Linked DNA regions of Homo sapiens: region 2 is linked to region 1. The links are contacts of gene promoters, found by promoter capture Hi-C in blood cells and fetal thymus (Javierre and others, 2016). All regions are on one chromosome and are shown on one strand. The core of a region is centred on a gene start or on the middle of the fragment in contact, and the rest is flanking DNA. Distances in the headings are between cores, read along the strand shown.

Region 1 (4,598 bases), core at 1,148-3,647:
CCTGGCGGCTTAGAGCAAATCCGAATGACTCAGGGCCTGGCACGGCCTCCTGCTCACCCCAATGGGTGGGCCTGTCTCACAGGTGGGGACAGGGCCAAGTGAGGTCGGGAAGAAGATAGAAATACCCACCCCATGGCCTGCATGATTAGAGGTTCAGAAGATGCTGGAGCAGGAAGCCCGAGGGGCTGGGGGCAGGGTGAGGGCTGGCTGGGAGCACCAGAAGCTGACACCCCAGAGGTCAGGTCAGTCACTTACCCCAGGGCACTAGACAGGTCTGGGGAGGGCTTCTGTTAGAATCCACCCTCCTGGCCTCCCAGCATGCAGACTGGAGGCCTGGCTATGTGCGGCGGTGGCAGCACACCCTTCCCCAGAACCCACAGGAGGTGCCCCTGCCTCCAGGCAGGCCCCAGCGCCGGGCATCCCCAAGCAGATCATGGCCTCTCGCGAAGGTGAGCTGACCCCACCCGCTGACCTCACGGAGGACATGAGGGTCAGATGAATACTAGGGAGGTGACTCGAGGCAACAAAGCCCTGTGAGGACTGTGGTGACTCACATGTGACAAATTCTGTTCCAGTCCCCAGTTCCCTTCCAGGACAACCTGACCCCCTGGAGGATGGCTGTACCACTCAGGGTCCCCATCATCCTGGCCCCTGCACAGGCTGAGCCCTGTCCTCCCAGCGACCGTCGCCGTCCAGGCAGCCCCTGCTGAAGGAGCCCTGGGCTCAGACTCACCCTGGACCATATCAACAAGGCCCCAAAGGTGGGCCTGGTGCTGTGGCTCACACCTGTAATCCCAGCACTTTGAGAGGCCCAGGTGGGCGGATCATCTGAAGTCAGAAGTTCGAGACCAGCCTGGCCAACATGGTGAAACCCTGTCTCTACTAAAAATACAAAAATTAGCTAGGCGTGGTAGCCCATGCCTGTAATCCCAGCTACTCAGGATTCTGAGGCAGGAGAATCGCTTGAACCCAGGAGGCGGAGTGAGCCAAGATCGTGCCATTGCACTCCAGCCTGGGTGACAGAGTGAGACTCAGTCTCACAAACAAACAAACAAAAGGCCCCAGAGGAGAGACTGAGGCCAGCCCCTGGTCCACGCAGAAGCCCAGCCTCAGAGCCCACTTGGGGCTCAAGACACCAATAGACAACTCAGCCATAAGCTGATAAGACACGGGCACACACCTGCACACGCATTCACACCCCTGCACTCACGCGCACGCAGGCAGGCACACACACACCCCTCCCACCTGGTGCAACATCATCAGACACTGGAAGTGGGCACGGGATGGCCTCGGGGAGCCTCGAGGTCACAGGCTGTGACTGGCAAGAGAGCCGCCTGCCCAGAGCCGTGTGAGGGACCCTCCTGCAAGGCCACCAGTGAAGCAGCTGCCCCAGACTCCAGCCACTGGACGACTGGCAGCCGTGGAACCCCCGTGCAAACACACACGACACGGAACACGTCATCTGTCTTGTTACAGGCATTTGGAGCTGGAAGACCTAAGTGAGGTCTCCCGACTTCTGTGCCCCAACACACTGTTCACACTTGCACAGTGTCACACACGTGCACACATGCCTGTGCGTGCAGTCACACACAGAAGACAGTCGCCACCCTGTGTGCACGTACATGGCAATCACACACATGTGCACTCACACACTTGCACACAGACACCCACACAGCAGCCCCTCGGTACACGCAGATACGCGTGCAGAGTGGGCTGTGCCTGTACCTGGTGCGATGAGACTGTGGTGCTTGCAGTGTACGATGGCTGCTACCAGCAGGTCCTTGAGGACACACAGGACCTTGCTGGGCACAATGTGTCCACGGCACTTGGCGTCACCCTCCGAGGAGGCAGTGAAGGTATCCTCGGTGGTCCACCGCTCCAGGCCAGCCCCTTCCCTGGGCACACCCAGGTGGCATAATTCAAGGCCATCCTCCGGCTGGGTGGCCTCTGGTTCCTCAATCAGTAGAGCCTCGGCATCCACCCACAGGGGCACCTCCATGTCCATTGGGTCCTCAGAGGAGCGCAGGGCGAACTGGAAGGCCTCCAGGCCACGGGAGTAGTCCACGATGAAGCGGGGGTCCAGGGCATGCACGCGCTCCAGCACCGTGAGCAGCACGTTCTCTGCGCGCTGGAAGTCCTGGGCACGCGGCGCCTCCCGGGACCGGATGGCCTGCAGGTAGTGGTGCCACAGGGGCACCTGCACGGCCATGGCTGAGGTGGGGAGAGCAGGGGCAGGCATCCCTTCAACAGTGGCAGGTGAGGGCCAGTGGCCCCTGAGGAGGACTCCGCAGGCCAGCTGTGCAGATGGGCTGTGAGGAGGCACCTGCCCAGGTGAGCAGCAGGTCTGCAGGTGGGGCCTCAGCTCCCACACAGCAGAATTCCAGAGTGACAGCACAGTGTGGCAGGTGAAATAGCTGAACTATTTAAGGCCTTTGAAGTGGGGGTGAGTCAGTCCCCAGCAATTGGGAATGTCACAGGGGCCATGCAGGGCAGGCGGGGGCTGGGTTTGGTTACCACCCTCCTCCCTCCCTTCAGAAGAGCTCTCTCATCTTAGGCCCAAGGCACGGCCCCTGTCCCAGCCAGGCTTGGGGTCCCTGGAGAAATATTGCCGCTGGACTGTGCCGTCCCTGGGATGGGAGCCTCTGTGTGTTGCTGATGGGCCTCCTTCCACCCTCCTCCCCACAGCCCAGGGGCCGGGTATCTGGATCAGGCCCCCCTGCCCCAGCCTCCCTGCCAGGTTGGAGGGAACACAAGGCACCCCGTGGCTCAGTGAGGAAGGGGAGGCAGGGCGGTGGCTGCCCAGACCCCGCTGTGGGGGAGCCCCCGACTCTCTAAGGCTGCCTGGAAGGCTGGGAACCTGGAGGCTGCGTCTCTGCAATGTTCCCCTCAGACACCTGTGCCCGGCTTACAGGCTGCAGTCCTGGCATGGCTCCTGCCTCTGCCCCAGCTGTGCATCCAGCCATCTGGGCCCTGGACCCCTGGGCTACCAGTCCCCACCCCACCCCACCCCACCCTGCCCAGCCTCCAACCTGAGAGGAGCTGGCACCCACCTAGCCTGGGAGCTGGAGCTCGTCTGGTTCTGGAGAAAAGCAGTCTCCGTGGCTCCACCTCACCCAGGTGGAGAAACTCGCCCCACCATCCCCCTCCAGCACCTGCACCAGGTACCCTGCCAGCCCCGCCCCCCTCCCCTGCTCAGGGCCGTGCAAGTCCCAACCAGCAGGGAGCCGCCCCATCGACCCTTGGCCCTGCCAGCTGGCCGAGTGCATCGGGTGCTCAGCCACAGGGGTGTCTGCAAACAGTGAACATGGAGATGGCCCCACAGGGGCGTCGTGGAGATGCTGCCCCTGTAGCCACCGCACGTGGGCCTCTCACCCCCCGGGGAGCTGCATCTGAGTCAGAGCTGTGGGCAGAACCAGGATCCCAGGAGGGGTGGGGCAGGGGGCAACAGCCACTCACTTCCTGGTGCTTGGAAGCCCCTATGAGGGGCTGCAGCCCAGTGAGCGGGTCTCTGCTTCCATGCCTCCCAGGACAGGGAGCTCACCACCTCACAGGGTAGCCCACGGTCAAGCGAGAGACAGATATCCCTCCTCCAAGCTGGCCCACTCCTGTTCCCTGGAGTTGCTTAGAGCACGTGTCCCCCTCCCCGAGGGCAGCCATTCAGGTTCAAGGCCCCATTTGTCCTGGGCCCTCACCCACGGCCTGCCTAGGTCCCCACACACAGCCGTGTGCCACACTCCTCCATCTCCACAGGACTCTGGCCTGGGGGAGGTGGACGCTGCTGCAGGGCAGCTGGGGTCCTACCCCTCACCCTCGGCCGCAGTGGCCCAGGGAGCTCATCTGCCTGTTCTGGGCCTTGGCTTCAACATCTGTGATTTGATGACACCTTCAGTGTCCCAGCTCCTCCTTCCCAGGAACCTCCCGGTGTTCTGAATTCGCCCAGGAGACCCCCAACCACACCCCAATCTACCCAAAGTGCCCAGGGGCTCTGAGCCATGGGAGGGGCTCGGCTTCTCAGCCCCCAAGCTGCTCCCTCCAGTGGCCACAGAGCAGGGCCCTTCTCCCTCGGGAGCGGCCCCCAGGCTTTGCATCCTCCTTTGCCCCTAAAGCCCCCTCTCCACTGCTGTCAACACCAAGAGCACAAGACCATGTCCCCCCTTTCCTCTCTTCAGCAGGGGATTCCACCTGGCTGACACCCTGTCCTGTCCTTCGCTGGCTCTGGCCTCCTGGCTCCCACCAGTTCCTGAGCTGAATCCAGCTGGTTGCCCCAAGGGACCCCACTCTCTCCACCTGTGCCCCAGCTGAGGTCAGAGCCTCTGATGGGCCAGGCCCCATCCTTGCCCCTTGGCCCTTCTGGCAGGTGGTGAATGACATGGTGAGCTCCCTATGGCTGGAACGGTGTCACACTCCTCAGTGTACCCTAGAGCCAGGCACGATGCCAGGCACACAGGAGCATGTGGAGTACACCAGGGAACTGTGGACAAGCAAAGGTCCCCGGGAAGCTGGACCTGTGGGAGAGAGAGGAGAGCCGCTGCTGACGGAGGGGATGCGGGCACCCGCCCTGGACGGCTGGGCAGCTTTGACCACAAAGGGGCCAAGTG
Region 2 (4,412 bases), core at 1,111-3,610, 660 kb after region 1:
CCATCCTGGCCAACATGGTGAAACCCCCTCTCTACCAAAAATACAAACAATTAGCCGGGCGTGGTGTCAGGTGCCTGTAGTCCCAGCTACTCGGGAGGCTGAGGCAGGAGAATCGCTGGAGCCCAGGAGGCGGGGTTGCAGTGAGCCGAGTTTACGCCATTGCACTCCAGCCTGGCAACAGAGCGAGACTCCGTCTCAAAAAAAAAAAAAAAAAAAAAGAATTCAGTCCTCTCAACAATCCTAGGAGGTAGGTATTATTATTCTTCCTACTTCCCAGACAGGAAAGTCATAGCAGATAGAAGTTCCATAGCTTTCCTAGCTTCTGGTAATGTTCCTGACAGGTTTCGGTATTAAAATTACATTGACCTCATAAAATGAGTTGGGAAATACTCCCTCATTTTTAGTCTCTGTGCAGGTTTGTATGAGACTGGTGGTATTTTTTTAACTGTTGAGAAGAATTTCTCAATGAAACCATCTGAACCTAGAATTTTCTTTGTGGGAAGATTTTAAATTACAGATTCAATGCATTTAATTGGTGTAGGACTATCCAGATTTTCTATTTCTTTTAGTGTCAGTTTTGGTAAGTTGTGTATCATCTAAAATTTCAAATGCACTGTCAAAAAGTCCTCCATACTATCTTTTTATCCCTTTAATGCTTGTAGTATCTACAGTGATGTCCTCTTTTTCATTCTTGATAGTGAAATTTGTGTTATCTTTTTTCTTACTCAATCTTTCTGGGGATTTATCAGTTCTATTAATCTCTTCAAAGAACCAATTTTTGGCTTTGTTGATTTTCTCTATTTTTTGCTTTATTCCATTAATTTCTGCTCTTATTTTTATTATTTCCTTTCATCTTTAGTTTTATTGTTCTTTTCTAGCTTCTTGAGTGGAAGCTTAGAGCAGTAATTTTATTTTTCTTTTTCCTTTTTTTTTTTTTTTTTTGAGATGGAATCACACTCTGTTGTCCAGGCTGGAGTGCAGGTGGGATGATCTCTGCTCACTGCAACCTTCGCCTCCCAGGTTCAAGCAATTCTCCTGCCTCAGCCTCCTTAGTAGCTGGGATTACAGACACCTGCCACCACACCCAACTCATTTTTTGTATCTCTAGTAGAGACGGGGTTTTCACCATTTTGACCCGGCTGGTCTCAAACTCCTGAGCTCAGGTGATCTGCCCACCTAGGCCTCCCAAAATGCTGGGATTACAGGTCTGAGTCATTTCACCTGGCCTAATTTTCAATCCTTCTTCTAAAGCTATCAAATTTCCTCTAAGCAGTGTTTTAGTTGCACTGTACAGCATTTGATATGTCTTATTTTTCACTGTTCTTGTCAACATATTTTAATCTTCCACTGTGATTATTGACCCATTGATTATTTAGAAGTGTGACATGTAATTTCCAAGCATTTGCAGATTTTCCAGTAATTTTTCTGTTATTGACTTTTAATTCAGAGAGGACACACTGTAAGATTTCAATCCGTTGAGATTTGCTGAGACTTGTATAAGGTCCATGATATGGTCTATTTCGATAAACATCCTATGTGCACATGGGAAGAATAAGTATTTTATAGTGTTGTACACACGTGAATTAGGCCAAGTTGGTTAATCCTATTGTTCAAACTGTGTGAGGTTGATTCAAGGATAAAGAAATAAACCAGTGGGATAGAGTTCCGAGACACACACACACACACACACACACTCTTCAGCTGATTTATGTTGAGATGTTGGGGACTCCTCCAATTCGGTGGAAAAAAAATGATGCTTTTCAATAAATGATGCCAGGTCAATTGGATATCTACACGAAAAAAAATGAGCTCTAGCCCCGTACCACACCATTCACAATAATTAATATGTAATCAATCATAGATCTAAATATGAGCCCTAAAACAAGCTTCTAAAAGGAAATACAGGAGGATATCCCAATAAAAAGGTACTAACCATAAAGAAAATATTGATAAATTGGACATCACTAAGAGTAACTCCTGTTCATCCAAAGCAAAAGTAAACCACAAAATAGAGGAAGATATTTGCAATAACTTCAATAAATGCGAATCCAATAATCCATCTACAATACAAAGGGCATGCGTCCGGACCAAGAACACGTCTCCAGACTCTGGAAAGAACCTCTACGAACGAAGAAGACAACCCAATTTTCAAATGGACCCCGGGGAACACCCAGGCGGCTGGGGCTGGCTCTAGGTCCCCACTGCTCTGCCTTGCGGGGGCCGCTCCGGCCTGGTCGCCTTCTCCGGGCGCATCCAGGGAACTCGCTCGGTCCTCCTTAAGCGGGGAAGCTCGGAAAGCGTCTCCCCGACTCCGCCCCCAGGGTTGCCTTTCCCTTAGAAGGCCAAGCCCCAAGCCCAGCCTCTCGCCAGCTGGGAGTCGCGCGCTGCCCACCTCGCTGCCCAGGCCCCCGACGCCGCGGCAGGAGCCCCCCAAGAGCGCGGGAAGCCCCGTGGACCTGGCGCTCCCGGCTCGGGCGTGGACGGGGCGGGCGCCGGGGCGGGGCGCGCGTCCTCGCGGGTCTGAATGGAAGGGTCGAGGTCGTCGTCGGCGGCGAGCAGATCCTGAAGCCAGAACTCCACCCCGGCGCCCGCGCCATGCGGCGGGAGAGGTGAGCGCGGCGGGCGTGGCGTCCGTGCCGGGGTGCCCGGGGTGCCACGGGAACGGCGAGGCCGGGGACACGCGCGCAGGACGCCAGCGGCGGAGGTGGGCGGCCCCGGGCCGGGGCGGGGAGGGCCGGGTCCTGGCAGTCGCCGTGGGGGACGCGCTGGGCTGTGCCCTCCGCCCCCGCCGCCCACGCACTCGTCTTCGAGGGCGGGCCCGGCGGCCCCGGAGCAAACCGCCGTCTCCCCGCGGCCCCACCGGTCCCTGGCAGCCTCGGGGAATGTCTGTAGCTGAATTCGGGCTCTGAAAGAAGGTGGCGCTGGGTTTTTAAAGATTTGGGGCACAAAAAACGAGAGCGGACCCGGCGCCGGCTACGGCCCTTCCCGAGGGCCACGCCCAGCCCGGCGCCCCGCGCGCCCCGTTCCCCGCGCCGCCTCCCTCCACCCGGCTGAGCGCTTGTGCCCGCAGGTGCGGCGCCCCCCACCCGCGTCGCCGCCATGGAGGTGCTGCGGCGCTCCTCGGTCTTCGCCGCCGAGATCATGGACGCCTTTGACCGCTCGCCCACAGACAAGGAGCTGGTGGCCCAGGCCAAGGCGCTGGGCCGGGAGTACGTGCACGCGCGGCTGCTGCGCGCCGGCCTCTCCTGGAGCGCGCCCGAGCGTGCCGCGCCGGTCCCGGGACGCCTGGCTGAGGTGTGCGCGGTGCTGCTGCGCCTGGGTGAGTGCGCCCTGGTGGGATCCCCAGCTGCGCCTCCTCCCCTGCTGGGCCGCAGCCTCCCTCCGAGGCCGAGATGGGGGTCCGGCCCAGGGGCGCCCACCCCCTGCCTGGGACGGCCAGGCGCTCGGGACAGGGCCACCCAGGCGGGTGCTCCCGGATCTGCCCTCTCAGGCCTCCCACGCCACAGGCCCCCCCATCAGCTGCCTGCTCAGCCCAGATTTCAGTCATGCTGGCCATAAACAATAGAAAGCTCCAGAAAGAATAATCTATTAGTGGGTGGCTAAGCTTCCACAGTGACCCTTGTTCTCAGCTGGGCACAGAAACCCTTTGTAGGAGCACGTGTCCCGATGTTTATTTTGGAAAACAGATTCTTGCTGTTACTGGCCGAGATCCCGCCCGCTGCCCTCTGGATTCCGAGGCCTCCGAGGCCCCCCCATTGGAAACTGCGCCCACCGGGCTGGGTAGCCAAAACCTCAGTATTCGTTGGTGCTGTGAGGACATCTGGGGGTGCTCGGTTCTGGGGTCACACACGGTCCACTGGCTGCCCCCACCGTCTCCAAGGTCTGGACCCAAGAGGGAGGGACCAGCCCCACTGTGACTGTCCAGTCCCCTCACCACAGCTGGGCTGTGGCCGTCACCTGGGAATGTTTATGTGATGCCCGAAGAGGGCACATGGGGCGCCTGTGGCTGAGCCCGGGAAGGGGAGGTGACAGCATAGGTGAAACTGAATCGGTGGCTCTCCAGGCAGGGGGTTGGAGTCGGAGGGCACGACCCCGTGAGGGGACACGCTGCCTCCTCTCAGGCTGGCGCTGGCATGGGCTCTAGGTGGCCCCTGCCCTTACGTGGTGGGCTGGGCCCAGAGAGCAAAGCTGTGTAGACCTGGCCTGCCCAGGAGTGTGTGTGGGGTGCAGACAGAATCCATGGGGACCAGCACAGAGCCTCCAGGAGGAGGTGGAGTCCCATCTGAGAAGTTCAGAAGGAGGGAGAGGTCTCTGGGTGGGAGCTAGGGGGTTGGTGGGGCTCCATGAGATCCGCCGCCTGCTGCTGCCTCTAGTCGGGCTCTGAGAATGACCCTAGGGGATCCTTTTAGTGG

The links. Contacts are between HindIII fragments. The CHiCAGO score rates a contact against its expected background, and 5 or more counts as called.
Region 2: the fragment with the promoter of BOK here is called in contact with the fragment with the promoter of MAB21L4 in region 1 in 5 of 17 cell types (M0 macrophages, naive CD8 T cells, total CD8 T cells and 2 more); the score reaches 6.6 in M0 macrophages.

The regions. Positions count from the first base shown.
Region 1 is chr2:240,893,759-240,898,356 of GRCh38, forward strand. It overlaps MAB21L4 (mab-21 like 4), which reads right to left and starts at 2,398. Exons shown (of 5, transcript NM_001085437.3): 1 at 1,726-2,398. The coding sequence starts at 2,239. RefSeq lists enhancers at 1,026-1,661, 2,934-3,569. The HindIII fragment of the contact is 9,523 bases long and covers 1-4,598 here.
Region 2 is chr2:241,556,385-241,560,796 of GRCh38, forward strand. It overlaps BOK (BCL2 family apoptosis regulator BOK), which reads left to right and starts at 2,361. Exons shown (of 5, transcript NM_032515.5): 1 at 2,361-2,609; 2 at 3,071-3,319. The coding sequence starts at 3,100. BOK-AS1 (BOK antisense RNA 1) reads right to left here and starts at 2,759. Exons shown (of 2, transcript NR_033346.1): 1 at 2,393-2,759. RefSeq lists silencers at 3,024-3,103, 3,134-3,203, 3,254-3,383. The HindIII fragment of the contact is 1,718 bases long and covers 1,885-3,602 here.